3 separate regions of the Homo sapiens genome follow, and regions 1 and 3 are each linked to region 2. The links are contacts of gene promoters, found by promoter capture Hi-C in human tissues and cell types (Jung and others, 2019). All regions are on one chromosome and are shown on one strand. Each heading gives the region's core, a stretch centred on a gene start or on the middle of the fragment in contact. The rest is flanking DNA. Distances are from core to core; before and after follow the strand shown.

Region 1 (3,711 bases), core at 19-2,518, 62 kb after region 2:
TGAAGGCATCAGATGTCACCCAGGCAGACTTTATAGTCTAATATTTGGGAGAGAATGAAAATATAGAGAGGTGATCCCAATACTCAGTGGCTTGTTACTCAAACATTTTATTGAATTCTTAAGCTTTACAGGGCAAAAGATTAAAGTTAAGCAGAAATCCAGAATTTTCTAGTCTTTTAGTACAACAGAACCAGGACCTTCCAAGGAGAGGTCATAATAACATGTGAAGCTCTCAGCCGGGACTCCTGCAGGGCTACAAAACTAGTAGTACGGGCAAATGAGCAGTTGACATAGCTTTACAAATATTGTGACCAACCTCCAGCTATTACAGGCCTTGGCTGGACTAAGATGGTTTGCTTGCACTCTAGCTGCTACCAGGGAAGTTAAATCTTCTCTGGAAGAACAACATCTAGAGCCTCTGCTCTCCTTCACATATAGTGTCAGGGATACAATAAAAAAGGCCAGCTGTGCTAAGAAATTCAATGAAGAGGGAAAAACAGACAATAGAAAAAGAACCGTAGAACACAGATACCAGAGTTATCAGACGTGAACCTTAAAATAACTGTGATTAATATGTTCAAGGAAACAGGAATGAGAATTACAACAAAGAATTGGAACCAAATAATCAAATGGAAATTCTAGAACTGAGAAATACAATAACCAAAATTATGAATTCAATAGTCTTTAACAAGATATCAAATATAGCAGAAAAGAGGAATAGTGAGCTACAAAAATACATAAGCAGAAAATATCCATAGTAAAACATGGCTAAAAAACTAAACATTATTTAAAAACAAAAAGGTTGAAAAATGAACTCTGAGAAGGGCTATAAACTCCAAGGATAACTACAAAGAAAATTCACCTAGGCACCTCAGCTAGGCACTACTGAAAACTGAAGATTACCTTGAAAGTTGCTTGAAAAAAACAAATGATACACTACCTTTGAAAAAGCAAAACTAAGACTGGCAGTGTCTTAATGAAAACAATGGAACCCAGAAGACAATGAAGTAACATCTGAAGCGGTGAAAGAACCGAACTGTCAAGCTAGAATTCAACACACAGAGAAAATATCTCTAAAAATTAAACTTGAAGTAGATATTTCCATACAAATAAAAACAGAGATGGTGTCACCAGCAGATCTACATTAAAAGAAACACAGATGTGTTCCAGGCAGAAGAAAAATAATTCCATGTGGAAATATGAAAATGTAAGAAGGCATGAAAAGCAATGGAAAAGTTAAATATATGGATAAGCAAAAATACAATTGATTATATGAGACAATAATTATAATGTCTTAATGGATTGCAAATATATGTGGAATTAAAATACATAGCAAAAATAAAGGTAGAAGGAAGAAAATGCTGTTAATTTTTTTTTTTTTTTTGAGACAGAGTCTCGCTCTGTTGCCCAGGCTGGAGTGCAGTGGTGATCTCAGCTCACTGCAACCTCTGCCTCCTGGATTCAAGCGATTCTCCTGCCTCAGCCTCCCGAGTAGCTGGGACTACAGGTGCACGCTGCCATGCCCAGCTAATTTTTTTTTTGTGTTTTACTAGAGACAGGGTTTCACCGTGTTGCCCAGGCTGGTTGCGAACTCCTGAGCTGAGGCAATCCGCCCGCCTTGGCCTCCCAAAATGCTGGGATTACAGGCGTGAGCCACCACACCTGGCCAAAAATGCTGTTAATTTTTAAGATTGTAACAATAATTTTAATTTTATTAAAAGTAAAAATTTATTTTGGACAGTAATAAGCTGGTTTTATTTATTAACAATAAAAGACTAAGTAAAGAAGGTTAATTAACAAGCTAATACAGAGTGAAAATGGCACAATAAAAGTATTTAATCCAATAGAAGGAAGGAAAAAAGGACAAGGAATTTAAAGCAAGTAAGTGAAATATAAAATAAATAATAGGATAGTAGATATAAAATCCCATACATAGTAACTTACCTAAGTTATTTTTAAAAACTAAGATTGTGGGCCAGGTGTGGTGGCTCTTGCCTGTAATCCTAGCACTTTGGGAGGCTGAGGCGGACAGATCACGAGGTCAAGAGATTGAGACCATCCTGGCCAACGTGGTGAAACCCCGTCTCTACTAAAAATACAAAAATTAGCCGGGTGCAGTGGCACGCACCTGTAATCCCAGCTACTTGGGAGGCTGAGTCAGAAGAATCGCTTGAACCCAGGAGGCAGAGGTTGCAGTGAGCTGAGATCGTGCCACTGCACTCCAGCCTGGCGACAGAGTGAGACTGTGTCTCAAAAAAAAAAAAAAAGATTGTGAGACTGGATGAACAAATAAAACATAACTGAGTATCATTTAGAAAAGAAATACCAAAAATATAGACACTGAAATAATAAAATAATTAAAAAGGATATATCATACAAAAGAAAGGTGCTATACCCATACTAATATCAGACAAATCACACAGTATTGGAGAAAACAGACTTTAAGGTATTTTATATAGACAAAAGGGTCAATTCTCCAGGAACATACAACAAATTTTCATTTGTATGCACACAACATAACTTTAAAAATGTATAAAGTAAAAATAGAATAAAAAGGAAAAATAGATAAATCAATAATCATAGTGAAAAATGTTCATATGGCACCCTCAATGACTCAGAAATCAAACCATTAAGAAAAGGAATGGGCTGGCCAGGTGTGGTGGCTCATGCCTGTAATCCCAGAACTTTGGGAGGCCAAGGCGGGTGGATCACCTGAGGTCCGGAGTTTGCGACCAGCCTGACCAAGGAGAAACCCCGTCTCTACTAAAAATACAAAATTAGCCGGGCGTGGTGGCACATGCCTGTAATCCCAACTACTCCGGAGGCTGAGGCAGGAGAATCGCTTGAACCGGGGAGGTGGAAGTTGCAGTGAGCCAAGATCTTTCCATTGCACTCCAGCCTGGGCAACAAGAGCGAAACTACGTTTCAAAAAAAAAAAAAGAAAAGGAATGGGCTGGACACAGTGGCTCATGCTTGTAATCCCAGTGCTTTGGGAGGCCAAGGCAGGAGGACCGCTTGAGTCTAGGAGTCCAAGACCTGACTGGGCAATATGGTGAAACCTCGTCTCTACAAAAAATTTTAAAAATCAGCCAGGCATGGTGATGTGTTCCTGTAGTCCCAGCTACTCAGGAGGCTGAGGTGGGAGGATCGCCATAAGCCCAGGAGTTCAAGGTTGCCATGAACAATGATCACACCACTGCACTCCAGCCTGGGCAACAGAGCAAGAACTTGTCTCAAAAAACAAAAAAAAGAAAAGAAAAGAAAAGAAAGAAAAAAAGAAAAGAAAAGAAAAAAAGGGGCCGGGCACGGTGGCTCATGCCTGTAATCCCAGCACTTTGGGAGGCCGAGGCGGGTGGATCACGAGGTCAGGAGATCGAGACCATCCTGGCTAACACGGTGAAACCCCGTCTCTACTAAAAATACAAAAAATTAGCCAGGCGTGGTGGTGGGCGCCTGTAGTCCCAGCTACTCAGGAGGATGAGGCAGCAGAATGGCGTGAACCCAGGAGGTGGAGCTTGCAGTGAGCTGAGATTGTGCCACTGCACTCCAGCCTGGGCAACAGAGCGAGACTCCGTCTCAAAAAAAAAAGGAAATGATCTCAACAACCCAATAAACACATTTGACCTCAAATTCTCAATTGTCCCCCATTAGTCTACACTTTCAGCCCAATTCTTATCAAAATTCCAGCAGGAATTTTGTGAAAATTGAATA
Region 2 (3,731 bases), core at 1,217-3,716:
CCAGTAGTTCAGTGTACAGATGATCTAGTTTATGTAACTCCCCTAGCACTGGATGTTTAGGTTGTTTGCACTTTGTTCATACTCTAGAAATGCTGAATTGAGCATCCTGTACAGAATCACAAAGGCGTACAAAGCTTATCTCCTTCAGACATATTTTTCTTTCTTTGTTTTTTTTTTTTTTTTTTTGAGATGGAGTCTTGCTCTGTCACCAGGCTGGAGTGCAATGGCACAATCTCAGCTCACTGCAACCTCCACCTTCCGGGTTCAAGTGATTCTCCTGCCTCAGCCTCCGGACTAACTGGGATTACAGGAGCGCACCACCAGACCCACCACACCTGGCTTTTTTTTTTTTTGAGACGGAGTCTCGCTGTGTCACGCAGGCTGGAGTGCAGTGGCATGATCTCCGCTCGCTTCAACCCCTGCCTCCCGGGTTCAAGTGATTCTCCTGCCTCAGCCTCCAGAGCAGTTGGGACTATAGGCATGCACCACCATCCCTAGCTAACTTCTGTATTTTTAGTAGAGACCGGGTTTCACCATGTTGGTCAGGCTGGTCTTGAACTTCTGACCTCAAGTGATCTGCCCACCTTGGCCTCCCAAGGTCCTGGGAATACAGGGCCTCTCTTTTTCAAATTCCCCGTGTTAGGAAGGAATTATTTAACTCCTCCGTGTCTTTGTCCTCCACAGGGCAAAAACACCTGGATCTTTCACAAAGCTCTGGTAGTGGCAGTGGCCTGGCATTGGAGCCCCATTAAATTCTTTGTCAAAAAGCATGAGACTGGGGGCCGGGCGCGGTGGCTCACGCCCATAGTCCCAACACTTTAGGAGGCTGAGGCGGGCAGATTGCTTGAGGTCAGGAGTTCAAGACCAGCCTTGCCAACTTGTTGAAGCCTGGTCTCTACTAAAAATACAAAAATTAGCTGGGTGTGGTGGCACACATGCCTGTAGTCCCAGCTACCAGGGAGGTTGAGGCTGCAGTGAGCCATGTCCGTGCCACTGCACTCCAGCCTGGGTAACAGAGTGAGACCCTGTCTCAAAAAAGGGAAAGAAAAAAAAAAAAAAGCATGAGACAGGCTCTGAGGCAAGGGAAACACCTTCCTTCCAGAGTTTCTCAGCTACCAAGCCCTCTGGTCCTTCCCTGAGCTTCACTGGGTAGAGAAGCTCAACAACAGATGAAGAAGTTTACCACGTCTAGACCCTGAAGGCAGTTCAAGCAAAAAGAAGCCTTCACTCACCTGTACATGGGCTGGCAGCAACCTCCTTGCCATTTCTCCCTCCCTGCTGCCTCTCTTGGAGAAGGCACCTGGAATGGAGAAAAAAGCTGTGAGGTCTTTTCATCCAGCCTGCATGCCCACCCTCATTAGGCCAGACCAGGTTAGAAGCCATAAGCTGAGCACCTGCAGAGAAGGAGCCTGGAACTGCCCAGGCCAGAGGGGCCCTAAGTCCGGCCACTTAAACCAGTGTGGGAAGCAGGTTCAGAGTCACCGGGCCTGCTACCTTTCTGCCAGTGCTTTACGATAAAGACGAAAGGAGCGAAGGGATGAAGACCATCTGCCGTGCCTTAACAGGGTCAAGGGCAGAATCAGGCAAGGCTCATTCAGATAAAGTAATAGGAAATGACACAATATTCCACACATCTGCACTTGGATGTTGTTCAATACGAAAAACAGCAGTTGAAGAACTGATGCTCTTTTTTAGGAACAGCCAACCAAAAATTAGTCCTCTTTTCTTCCTCTTGTAAGATTTACTTCCTTTATCAAAAACAGTTATCAAAGCTGCTTAAAGGTAGCGTTACCCATTCTCCCTGGCCCCAAAAAAACAAGGGCGCAAGAAAACAGCATCACTAGCTAGAAATTGATTTAAAATTTAGAGAAATGGGAAGAAACGTAGCAAGTGGACATGGTTACGGTAAATAAAAAAAGAAATAGTTAAATCACTCTAGGACTGGCTGTAGGAAAACACTGCCAAACGTGCAAGACTGCCAAAAACGAGTAAATCTAAAGTTTAAACTCCGGGAAACGGAGTAGGGGGAGGCTTAAACCCACAAACACTAAGAGCGAAAAACCGCCCGGAGGGCTCCGGACCCTGAACCGAGGCGGCATTTTGCAGTTTCTGTTCTGGAGCCGTTTCCCCCGGAGTCCGGCCCAGGCTGCGGCCCAGGAGTCCAGCGGCGTCGAAGCGCCCTCCCGGCCTCCGCCAGGCCCTTCCCAGGCCACGCCCCCTCCGGGGCCGGGTTCACCTGCCGAGGCCGCCCCGGCTCGGACGCCCGGAGCCGGGGACTCGGCAGACACGCGCAGAGGCCAGCCCTCGTCCTGGTCCCGCCGCGGCAGCCGCACGCCCCGGGCCCGCCCTCACCGGCAGCCTGTACCTGGGCCCGCCTCGGCGGGGGGCGCGCAGCTCCACACCGCACAAGAGGCGAGCGGAACACCTAATTCAGAGACGTTTCCCGTCGCTGCCGGGCGCAACTGCGCCTGCGCGCCGGAGAGCCGACGGGTTTCCCTGGCTGAACCGCAGCGTTTGTCCCTCCGGACTTCATTTCCCAGACGTCGCTGCGGCACCACCACTTACGGTGTCCGAGAGAGAACCACAGCGCCGAGAGCGGAGAACGCGGTCGGGCTGTGGAGTTCGAGAAGGCTGAAGCCGAGTCCCTCAGCTTGGGCTCCAACTACTCTCCCTCCGCTAAACCACCCATTGTATTCGTAATTAGAATGACAAAAATAGTAAGACGGAAAAGTGAGTATGAATTTTTAAATCTGGAAGACTAGCCGCTGCTGATTATTCGCAGGTGGTGACAGAACTATTACAGTCCATTCTGCGATTTTAATTAAAAATGAATTATGTCTAAATTTTATAATCTCGGCCGGGCGCGGTGGCTTATGCCTGTAATCGCAGCACTTTGGGAGGCCGAGGTGGGCGGATCACAAGGTCAGGAGACCGAGACCATCTTGGCCAACATGGTGCAACCCTGTCTCTACGAAAACACGAAAAATTAGTCGGGCGTGGTGGCACATGCCTGTAATCCCAGCTATTCGGGAGGCTGAGGCAGGAGAATCGCTTGAACCTGGGAGGCGAAGGTTGCGGTGAGCTCAGATCGCGCCATTGCACTCCAGCCTGGGTGACAGAGCAAGACTCTGTCTCAAATAAATAAATAAATAAATAAATAAATTTTTGTAATCTTTACATATTTACTGGCACTCAGAGTAAAACAAAAGCATAAGCCTAGTATTTCCCTCTTCATGGCACTCACTTCTTTTGAAGTGACTTCTTTAAAACGTAAAATAAAGCCCAACTCCCAGCGCTATCATCACAACTGCATCCTCGGTGACCGGCACTGTACACGCCAAATACTATGTGCTCAGAAAGTGTTGATTTTTAAAATATCAAACATTAGCGTTTACAGAGACAAACCTAAACACAAAGGGTACTTGAAGATAGAAAATGCAGAGAGGGACTAAGAGATATCAGGTAGATAATATGAAAAAGAAATCTTGGATCACGATGTTACAACAATACAAAGATTATTGCAATGTAAAAATAATTAAATCGAACAAAATGGATGTTTTATATTGTTAAAAGATAATAATGCACATCACTAATCATTAGGGGAATGCAGATCAAAGCAGATCAAACATCCACTGCGATTTCACACTCATTAGGTTGGCTATTATAAAATTTGGAAAAAAAAGAAAACCAGAAAACAATCCTTGTGCCTTAATGGTGGGAATGTAAAATGG
Region 3 (3,783 bases), core at 237-2,736, 41 kb after region 2:
CATTTGCTGTTATTTTGCAGGAGTCCGTTCCGAGTGAGGCGTGCTCGCTCGCTCCCCACTCCACGGGCTGCGGCATCTGTGGGCCGTTTTGGTGGTTACCGCTGTGCAGCCCTGGGCTTGCATTTTTGTTTCTCATGAGCAACTTTTTTTTTTTCCACCTGGAGCCTTGTTCTAGTAGGAACTTCCAAACTTATTTTGGAAGTTGGTCTCGATCTCCTGACCTCGTGATCCACTTATTTGGAAGGTCCTTTGTTCAGGGGTCTGCTGCCTTTGGGAGAAGCACAAAAAGCTGCTGCTTCTGGGTGGGCAGATGACTGCAAAGCATCCCTTCCAGCAGGATCACATGGCCCTGCTCCAGGTGCTCGGCATGGCACTGGCATGCAGGCTGGATTCCAGCTCCACCCCTGCCCCCAATCAGGCGCTCTCGTACAGTGAACAACCAGCACGAACGTGTGGGGCAGCCCTTCCAGGGTCCCGCCTTTATGCAGGTGGCTTCGTTCCTGTTCCCCAGCTTTCCTTGGCTTGAGGTTGTGCTTCCTGTCATGTGAGGGAGTGGTAACTCCATCTCCTCCCTGTGAGGGCCTGCACAGACTCCAGTACTCCTCGGCATCAGCTCCCATTCCTGCTCCTCCCCACTGAGTGCTCCTTTGTTTCTCTTGCCTGTGGCGTGCCCTGATTTTGAAGCTCAGTACACGTGAGGAGGCTAGAGAGGCGATGCGAGTAGGGCCTCAGTTCCAGAGCTTCCGGCCACATCCATCTACCTTGAAGGGGCGCAGTAAATGGCATTGGTAATGGCTAGAATGCAGGAAGAGGACACCAAGCTGCCCCTTATGCACACTGCACTGATGTTGCCAACATATACGGGCGGCACAGCCCTTCTCCGCAGCTGCCAGGTCACGGGCCTTTGGACGGACCCCTCTTGGGCTGCCCCTGCCTGGGCTGCCATCCCCTCTTCTCCACTGAGTGCTCCTGAGAGCCACCACGAAGAGGTGGAGCATCCCCTCCATAGGCCAGAGCCTCAAGGGGATCCTGACCCGCAGGGGCCTCTGTCAGGGCTGGAATGGATTTGTCCCTGGAAAGTGCTGTGTCTGATGCAGTGTTGGCTCCTGCAGGTGGTGGGGATGATAGCATGGCTGGGGGCCCGGCCCCCACACAGCGTGATTGACTATGAGGAACAGCGGACGGTGGACCCCGAGCAGGCCAGAGGGGTGCTCAAGTGCGACATGTCGGATCTGTCTCTCATCGGCTGCCTGGGCTACAGCCTCCTGCTCATGGTCACGTGCACAGTGTACGCCATCAAGGCCCGTGGCGTGCCCGAGACCTTCAACGAGGCCAAGCCCATCGGCTTCACCATGTACACCACCTGCATCATCTGGCTGGCATTCGTGCCCATCTTCTTTGGCACTGCCCAGTCAGCTGAAAAGGTAATGAGGTCCCCAGGAGGTCTCGCTGCCTGTTTCCTGCCTGTCAGGCTGGTCGATTCATTCATGAGATTAAATGCTTGTTCGTGCTTTTGTTTATCCCGTATCTGGCTGCTTGTTCATTCACTCATTCCCTTCTTACTTTGTTCATTCATTCACTTTTCCAAGCTTCTAACCCCTCTTCTTAACTTCCACTCTTCTTTTTTTCTTTTTTTTTTTTATCATTTTCATTTCTTTGAGAGATATTGCCTCACTCTGTCACCCAGTTACAGTTAGCTTGTTTTTTTTAATTCAAGTTCTTCATATGCTTTTTTTTTTTTTTTTTTTTTTTTTTTTGAGACAGAGTCTCACTCTGTTGCCCAGGCTGGAGTGCAGTGGCGTGATCTTGGCTCACTGCAAGCTCCGCCTCCTGGGTCAAGTGATTCTCCAGCCTCAGCCTCCCCCGTAGCTGGGACTACAGGTGCCTGCCACCACGCCTGGGCAATTTTTGTAATTTTAGTAGAGATGGGGTTTCACCATATTAGTCAGACTGGTCTCAAATTCTTGACCTCAAGTGACCCATCTGCCTCGGCCTCCCAAAGTGCTGGGATGACAGGCGTGAGCCACTGCGCCCAGGCTTCATGTGCTTTATAACTGCCAACCCATTAATGCGTCAGCCCATTGCTGCATCATTTATTCACGTATGCGGCAGAATATTTTATGCACCTGTCATCCATTTATTTGCCCATCTGCTCCTGAAGTTTGTCTCTGCCCATTTATTCATTTGTATGTATTTGAAACGTGCTCATTCACTGACATGCCCCGGCTCCCGCTTCCCCAGGTGTCTCTCTGTTAATAACCCCTCCTCACCCCTCCCTCCTGCCCACACCAGAGCTGCATGGAGGCTGCCAGCCCCTCAGGCGCGGGGCCCCTGCTCATACTGTTGTCCTGGTCTAAGTGCTCATTCCCAGTTCCCCAACTGAAACAGACTCAGCTCCAGAGTATGTGGTGAGGACTGTGTGGAGCGGGGCAGGGAGAGCAGGGCTGAGTCCCATCTGGTCCCCTCTTCCATGGCCTAGATCTACATCCAGACAACCACGCTAACCGTGTCCTTGAGCCTGAGTGCCTCGGTGTCCCTCGGCATGCTCTACGTACCCAAAACCTACGTCATCCTCTTCCATCCAGAGCAGAATGTGCAGAAGCGAAAGCGGAGCCTCAAGGCCACCTCCACGGTGGCAGCCCCACCCAAGGGCGAGGATGCAGAGGCCCACAAGTAGCAGGGCAGGTGGGAACGGGACTGCTTGCTGCCTCTCCTTTCTTCCTCTTGCCTCGAGGTGGAAGCTGTATAGAGCCCGGGTCCACGGTGAACAGTCAGTGGCAGGGAGTTTGCCAAGACCATGCTCCGCGTCGGTGGGGCTGGCCTTGAGAAGGAACTGGACCCAGCTCTACCCCGATTCCAGCATGTGAGCTTCATGCTTCCTCACCACAGACCAGACTCGCTTCCCATGGTGGGAAACAGCCACCGAGAAGGTTCTAGCTCTAGAAAGGGACTAAACTTATTCTCTCATCCGAAGTCCAAAGAGGATGATGAAGCCCTGGGCTTTGCCTGGTTTGCGGGAGATTTCCTCCCCTCAGTCAACCCCCATAACCTGGGGATTGGGCAGTGTGGAAGAACGTGTAGACCCCAGAATGAAACATGGGGTTGGAGTGGAGGAGGAGCTGTCTCAGCAAGAGGAGACCTGGGGCTGTGCATCTGGATGGAGGCACTCAGGCCTGGGTAGGATTCCTCTGGCACGGAGGGAGAGACCCTGGGTGAGACCCCTGTGAGCATGGGAAGGGCCTGCAGTGGGCGCGGGAGTGAGCTGAGGAACTGGGGTGCGCCCCCATGAGATTCCCAATGCCATGGGCTTTCCCCCATCCCCCCGGGATTGGGCAAGGTCAGACTTAGAGTACAGCTGTTTTCCTCCCCTCTGTGTACTCCCTTAAATCACCCCAACCTTGGCCAGGCATGGTGGCTCACACCTGTAATCCCAGCACTTTGGGAGGCCGAGGCAGGTGGATCACCTGAGGTCCGGAGTTCGAGACCAGCCTGGCCAATGTGGTGAAACCCTGTCTCTACTAAAAATACAAAAATTAGCCAGGTGTGATGGTGGGTGCCTGTAATCCCAGTTACTTGGGAGGCTGAGGCAGGAGAATCGCTTGAACCTGGGAGGTGGAGGTTGCAGTGAGCTGTGATTGTGCCACTGTACTCCAGCCTGGGTGACAGAGCGAGACTCTGTCTCAAAAAAACAAAACAAAAAAACACCAAAAAAACCCCCAAACCTGAAGAAATTCAGATACACGTGTGTAATGTTAGTGATGTGAGAACAAGGAGCAGGGGTGC

What was found. The method cuts DNA at HindIII sites, captures the fragments that hold promoters and counts their contacts. A contact is called where the count stands out against the background at its distance.
Region 1: a fragment that was not itself captured here is called in contact with the fragment with the promoter of ZNF879 in region 2 in 2 of the 25 tissues and cell types used here (dorsolateral prefrontal cortex and spleen).
Region 3: a fragment that was not itself captured here is called in contact with the fragment with the promoter of ZNF879 in region 2 in 3 of the 25 tissues and cell types used here (dorsolateral prefrontal cortex, psoas muscle and spleen).

Annotation. Positions count from the first base shown.
Region 1 is chr5:178,959,491-178,963,201 of GRCh38, reverse strand. All of the region lies in intron 4 of ZNF454 (zinc finger protein 454), which reads right to left. Among named protein-coding and RNA genes, the nearest start is that of ZNF454, 20 kb to the right of the region's middle. The HindIII fragment of the contact is 4,453 bases long and covers 1-3,494 here.
Region 2 is chr5:179,022,539-179,026,269 of GRCh38, reverse strand. It overlaps ZNF879 (zinc finger protein 879), which reads right to left and starts at 2,466. Exons shown (of 5, transcript NM_001136116.3): 1 at 2,366-2,466; 2 at 1,233-1,300. The coding sequence starts at 1,265. RefSeq lists an enhancer at 2,337-2,838. The HindIII fragment of the contact is 17,237 bases long and covers 1-3,731 here.
Region 3 is chr5:178,980,551-178,984,333 of GRCh38, reverse strand. GRM6 (glutamate metabotropic receptor 6) reads left to right here. Exons shown (of 11, transcript NM_000843.4): 10 at 1,113-1,424; 11 at 2,480-3,783. The coding sequence ends at 2,677. It also overlaps a transcript of ZNF454 not described here. Among named protein-coding and RNA genes, the nearest start is that of GRM6, 13 kb to the left of the region's middle. RefSeq lists an enhancer at 1,440-1,609. The HindIII fragment of the contact is 5,310 bases long and covers 1-3,783 here.